Linked DNA regions of Homo sapiens: region 2 is linked to region 1. Evidence: promoter capture Hi-C in 16 types of primary human blood cells and fetal thymus (Javierre and others, 2016). All regions are on one chromosome and are shown on one strand. Each heading gives the region's core, a stretch centred on a gene start or on the middle of the fragment in contact. The rest is flanking DNA. Distances are from core to core; before and after follow the strand shown. Region 1 holds the start of RAB1A (RAB1A, member RAS oncogene family). Region 2 overlaps UGP2 (UDP-glucose pyrophosphorylase 2).

What was found. Contacts are between HindIII fragments. The CHiCAGO score rates a contact against its expected background, and 5 or more counts as called.
Region 2: a fragment that was not itself captured here is called in contact with the fragment with the promoter of RAB1A in region 1 in 1 of 17 cell types (fetal thymus); the score reaches 6.5 in fetal thymus.

What each region holds. Positions count from the first base shown.
Region 1 is chr2:65,128,732-65,131,828 of GRCh38, reverse strand. RAB1A (RAB1A, member RAS oncogene family) reads left to right here and starts at 1,723. Exons shown (of 6, transcript NM_004161.5): 1 at 1,723-1,936. The coding sequence starts at 1,914. RefSeq lists silencers at 1,225-1,574, 2,075-2,124 and enhancers at 1,427-1,940, 1,685-1,944, 1,941-2,455. The HindIII fragment of the contact is 2,599 bases long and covers 133-2,731 here.
Region 2 is chr2:63,842,391-63,845,852 of GRCh38, reverse strand. All of the region lies in intron 1 of UGP2 (UDP-glucose pyrophosphorylase 2), which reads right to left. Among named protein-coding and RNA genes, the nearest start is that of UGP2, 2.2 kb to the right of the region's middle. The HindIII fragment of the contact is 1,431 bases long and covers 1,394-2,824 here.

The sequences.
Region 1 (3,097 bases), core at 474-2,973:
GTTGGCCAGGCTGGTCTTGAATTCCTGACCTCGTGATCTGTCCGTTTTGGCCTCTCAAATTCCTGAGATTACAGGCATGAGCCACCGAGCCTGGCCAGTTTTCTGAGTTTTTATTTGAAATCAAAATAAGCTTTTTTTTTTTTTAATGGGCTTTAGAGTCCAGGGTAACGAACACTTTTTGGTGCCTATTACTGAACCATTCAGGGTATTCCTGGGGTGGTGACCGTGTTCATTTCAGAAACCAACATGTTCATTTCAGAAACCAAACTCGGGTAACTTTTGATAAGTTCATCAACTAAGGCCCATGGCAGAATTTGAGGGCTAAGGGGTGTAATTAGTGTATGGGTAGAAATAAGTGCCTTCTTTCTATATTTTGGCGTTGTAGGAATTTAAAGTGATTCTGCAGTAAGTCTCAGGAGACAATTTTCTTAGTTCTTAGAAGTTGGAAGATAAACTTTGGACAATGTATTACACTATGCCCTTTGTAATTAAATAACTCAAGATAATGTGTTAAAGTTTAGCGGAGATTTAAATTCCTGAGCTGATTAAAGAGAGCTGTTAAGGCCATAGGTTTTTTAAAAATGAGTTAATATTACTCCCAGAAATTGTAGGCACTATATAGTGATGAATTGCCTATTTTTATTGCTTATTATTTTCCAGTCTTGCAGAATGGCTCAGGGTTAGTAGCAACTAAAAGATAATACATTACAATTCAACCTGAAGGCCGGGACGAAGGTAGGAATTGGATTTTAGGCTGGCTCTGGGCTGTGTCCCTCCCATCCATGGGATGTGGAGCCATTGAAGGTTGTGGGGTCACGATGCAGGTGCTGTCTCAGAAAGATACATCCGACTGTGTGTGCAAATGGGCTGGGGCGGAGAGGAGAGAGAGAGGTAGAGTCCATTTGGAGACTACTGCAATAGCCAGGCTGACGAGTTAAGAGCGGGGCACAGTAAGAATGGGAAGAAATCTAAGAAGAAAATGGTAGTGCGCGGGGCCAACAATGGACGATGACCGAACCCAGGTGGGGATGGGTGAGTGACGAGAAGAACCGCTCCGTGCCGTCCAGGGAGCCCCTTGACTTCCCTTCTGTTCTTAGAGCGGACGTCCTCCTACCAGCCCCCAACCAGCGCCACCAGGGTGGCGCAAGCCTCAAGCTGGTCAGGTCAGCAACAGCCGCAACGGAGGCAGGAGCCGACACGCTCGTACCCCGGCCCCCTCCCCGCCCCCGCACCCCCGGCAGTCCCTCCGGTTTGACCACTCCCCCCGGTCCCTTGCCTCCCCCGACCCCCAGCCTCCGTCGGCCGCCGGCACCACCCTCCGCCCCTCTCCGCCCCCTCCCCCGTGGGGCGCTGACTCGCCCGGCTGCCACGTCTCACTGATGACATCACTAGGGCAGCTCGGCCTTAGCCAATCCGCCAGGGGGAGTCCGAGCGAAGTCCTAGCCAGCGAGTCAGAGGGGAGGGGAGCAGGGAGGGGCCGAGGGTGGGGAGGTGAGGGAGTGGGGAATGGGGCGGGCGACAACCCTTCAGGTACGCATGCCCCAGAGGCGCGGCGCTTGGCGGGAAGCTGAGTCCTGGCCTTGCGTCGCACTGTCTGTCCTCAGCTCGCGTAGCCGCGCTCGCGACTCCCTTTCCCGGCATGCCAGGCGGTGCGGCCGCCCTCTGGGCCGTGTAAAGGCCCCTCGGTCTAAGGCTTCCCTATTTCCTGGTTCGCCGGCGGCCATTTTGGGTGGAAGCGATAGCTGAGTGGCGGCGGCTGCTGATTGTGTTCTAGGGGACGGAGTAGGGGAAGACGTTTGCTCTCCCGGAACAGCCTATCTCATTCCTTTCTTTCGATTACCCGTGGCGCGGAGAGTCAGGGCGGCGGCTGCGGCAGCAAGGGCGGCGGTGGCGGCGGCGGCAGCTGCAGTGACATGTCCAGCATGAATCCCGAATAGTGAGTTCAGGAGAGCACCGGTCGGCTGGGTCCGTGGGCCAGCTTGGGGGATCTTAAAGGGGTCGAGGAGGGTTGGGGCAGAAGTCGGGGCATCGGCTGGGGTGAGGCGAGGGTGATGGGTCAGGAGAGGCTGGCGGCCGGGAGTCGGGCCCCATTGTCTGACGCGGAGGGGCGGCCGCGCGGGGGAGGGGTCGGGCCGGAGGGGTGAGCCGCCCGGGCCTGGACCGGGTCAGGTTAGAGGGCCTGACTGCGGGGCGGGTGCTGAGGAAGCCTGCCGAGGGGCCTGGGGCGGTGTGAAGGGGTATCTTCTCTCGGAGGCAGTGACTTTTGAAGGAGGACTTGTCTCTAAGGGGAGGGGATGGGGTGGGAGAGCCCTTCTAGAGGGCACTGTCAGACCCTGCGCCCGCACTCTGCGGAGCTGTCAGGATCTTCGGGGTAGAAACCAGCTTTACTTGTAAATCCTGAGCTTGTTGGCTCTCTCTCCTTCCATCCTCCCCGCCAGGTTTCAGGTAATATGGATGCTTTTCGGGACTGCGTGGGATTGAGGGGAATGAGTAGATGGTGAGAAGCAACTGAACATTTATTAGTTCTCTTTTTGAGTTGTGTCTTGGAGGAGTTGTTTAAGAGCTCGCCGGGTCCATTGCCCTCCTATAAAAACCTGGGCATTTGTGAGAATTTTGTTTTTTTTTTTTTTAAAGAGGACACCTAAGTCATTTTGTCTTCTGTGGGTCAAGGGAAAAAAAAAAAACTAAAGCCAAGAAATGTCTTTTTGATACTCGCAGATTAAAGGAAGCTTGCTGTCAAGTTGAAAGAGAAACGAACGGGACCTATGATAGATCTGTATGTAGGTTTTGGATTACCTGCTTGGATGCTTGCAGATAGGGAATGAGGTTCCATGACGTGTCATGAAAAGTTAATGCATTTCTTTTTCTTGCTTACTCAAGAAGTCACCACAGCAGATGTGACACACCTGGCACCTTTCCTGGGAACTGGTGTTCACTTCCCTTGGGTAGAGTTTGTTGGGCTCTCCTCAATGGCCCTTTAAAAATTTCCTCTACAGTTTACATGCATGTAAAGTAATGAATAATTGGAAGAGACCGAATTGGTATTCCTTTTCAGTGTCAAAGGCCTTTGAGGGATGGGGGAACATCAGTATTTGTT
Region 2 (3,462 bases), core at 860-3,359, 1.3 Mb after region 1:
CAGCTTTCCTCTAAGGCACAATGCCTAGGATTTGGAGAAGGAGATACAAGCCAAGTATAGCAACCATCCTACTACATTCAAAACAGGTGTACACAACACTTAGGTGTAATGCCCAGATCTGCTGAACTTCAGTGCCTACCATAAGGGATATGCCAGAAATCCTAATACAGTACATCATACATAGTAAGAGCTCAAAAAAAATTTTGTTCACTGTATTCAGAAGAAAACCGTCACCAACTTGTACTCAAGTTGAGAGGTTATAAAAACTACAACCAAATTCATATTGTCCAAACGTTACCTTGCCCCACCCCGGCACTTTTTTTTTTTTTTTTTAACATAATAACACCTAGGCCTGAACATGAAACCTGGAATAGGAAAATAAAGAACTTTCATACCTGCCTTTTTTCTTTTAGTTCTGTTGATGACATGTGGTTATATTTTGGGTGGCAATGCTATCTGAAAGGCCACCATCATTTCAGGAAAGAAAAGTAAAATTGACTGGCTACCTAATATGTGCCTAGCACATCCACATAGTTCATCTCATTTCAGCCTCTCAATAACCCTGAGGCATAAGCATTACTGCCCAATTTTTATCTAAGAAGAAACTGAGGTTTGAAAGGTATGTGCCTAAGATCACCTGCTAGTAACGGTATTCAAATCTAAGTCTGTACCTTTCCATCTTTCTCAACATTTATATAATCTAAGAGGTGTTATAAAAACTACAACCAAAAATGTAAGATAAGCTACTAAATAGTAGATGGAAAATGCTAAGCTGTGGGCTTCTCATTTGTCATCCATGACAAATTCATTTAGAGTATCGTCCACTTACAAAACACTGTATTTCTCCCAAGGATATAATATTATCTTTGCCCAATGGGAACTGACAGTCTAGCTGGAGAAACAGGCCATTTCCACAGTTGTTAATGTTAGAAGCAACAAAAGATGTCGGGAAGGACTAGGGTTTTAGACACACTCATGTAAGAATTTCAGTGCTGTGCACTAGCAGCTCACACCTGTAATCCCAGTACTCTGGGAGGCTGAGGCTAGAAGATCGCTTAAGACCAGGAGTTTGAGACCAGCCTGAGAAACATAGGGAAAGCCTGTCTCTTTAAAAAAGGAGAAAAGTAGCCAGGCATGGTGGTGTGCACCTGTAGTCCCAGCTACTCAGGGGGCTGAGGTGGGAAAATTGCTTAAGCCAAGGAGATCAAGGCTGCAGTGAGCTGTGATCGCACCACTGCACTCCAGCCTGGCAACAAAGTGAGACCCTGCCTCAAAATCAATCTATCAATCAATCAGTGCTTTATACAAGCTGTGAACTTTGGACAAGATACTTAACTTTCCTCACCTGTAAGGGCAGGATAAAAAATCTACATCTCAGGACTCTTATAAAGCTTGAGAAAACCCATGAAAAAAAAAAGTTAGAAACCTAACATTTGTTAACTCTTTCCCCTATGAAGGAGCATGAACTACTAAGTGCCAGTGATTGGAAATATCAATATTTTCTGCAGCAAAGATCAAAGAATTTGATTTGCTTAAAAAAATAATCAAAACCAAAATTTCCAACCCTTACACTTGAAAGCTCTTTTGTGGAGACAGCTGTGTCATTTGCCAATTAGGTTTATCATTTACAACAGCAGCAGAGTTAAACATATAGAGGGCTCACACTGTACAAAATTTAAACAATGATAAACAGGAGCACATTCATGTCAAAAAATTTTGAGGAGGTGTCATATTCTTGTGCAAAACTGCCCATCTTAAAAGGAAAACTACCATTTAAAGTAAAAATGTATGACAACTATAGGCTATGGCATATGCCTAAGTCCCATCTACTCAGGAGGCTAACGCAGGAGGACAGCTTGAGCCCAGGGGCTTGAGGCTGTAGTGCACTATGATTGTTCCTGTGAATACCCACTGTACTCCAGCGTGGACAACACAGTAAGACCTTGACAAAAAAAGAAGAAAGAAAAAGAAAAAAGAAAAAAAGTGGCTGGCAACTAAGTGCAATCTGGTATCTTAGAGTGAATCATGGGAACTGTAATCTGAACAAAGCCTTTAGTTAACAGTAATGTACCTATGTTAATTTCTTAGTTTTGACAAATGTGCAACTTTTCTATAAATCCTGAAGTATTCCAAAATATAAAAAGTTTTTTTAAAAAAAGTGGATGACAAAGTAATGACAAACATACACAGCAACTCTTACCACTTGATTTTGAATCTTCTGAGGACAAGTTGGCATTACAGCAAAGGCTGTGAAATCAGTCAATGCTTGCCAATTCTGCAACCTATTCTAAAGCATAACTCTACATGGAACACCTTGGGTTTATTAATATTTCTAACTTTTAAAGAGAAGTAACTTGTCCACTTTTACCTAGCATATTCTTGCAAAATACCGCCTTTATGGTAACTGAATATTGTTATTACAAAACCAGTACGTTTCTAACAGTTCTGCCTTTCTATTCTTGAATAAGACATTTACTCAATCAGAACATAAGCATCTCTTACCACATATAAGGTATAACATGAATTTGAAAGTCTAATAACAAGTGACATTTCTGAGCTTAGCGCTAAAGGCAAGCATAGCGTTCGATCTGTTTCGATAATAACACAGGCAGTCGAATTCTCTTACTTTAATCTACTACACAAAATTTAAAGAAGAGTTAATAAAGCGATGTAGAACTCAGTAGGGCATTTTTATTCCCAGGGTCAAATGATGGCCATTACTGACACAACTTTTTTTTTCCAAAAGTACACCTACATTTATCAGGAAGCATAATAAGTGTTTGTGAACTTTACTAGCTGTGTGTTCATCAAGATGGCTGAAGCTTTCACACACTGGAGTCTACAAGGAAAGAGTTTACTTGCATACCAGAAGGCAAATCTCATGCTACAAACTGGTGTCAAAGGTTTATGCCAGCACCAATTTCAGTGAGTACACCGTACACACATGCATTCATATACACGTTACTGATAATCTCAGTTGAGGCATTCCCTAACCCTTTTTAAATACACATGTGGAATTTAGAGAGCAGTTTTCAAACTTCAAAGGAACCTTAATCATCTTTTCATAGTTCAAAAAAGGAAAAAATAAACACAGCAATGCAGCAAAGTCATTTCTCCAGCTGAAATGACCTCCAGCTTCTTCGGGCTACTCCCAGTTTCGCAATAAGTGAATCTGAGACGCAAACCACGTACACACAAACGAAGTAGAAGCGGAGAACACTAAAGCTTCCCCAACAGTCCCGGCAAAACCCACCCGGCTTTTCTCAGTCCTCCCGCTTCCCCAGCCCTTCCCGTCTGCGTGCACGCACAGGTACCTTGACACAGACCAGGAAAAGAGAACAAGGATTAATTAGCAGCCAAAAATCCTGTTTTATCACTTACAGCCACTATCCAGGAAAGCGACGGTACTACTAACCTGATTTCAGGGAGGCAAAACTAAACCCAGCAGGGTACAGGAGCATA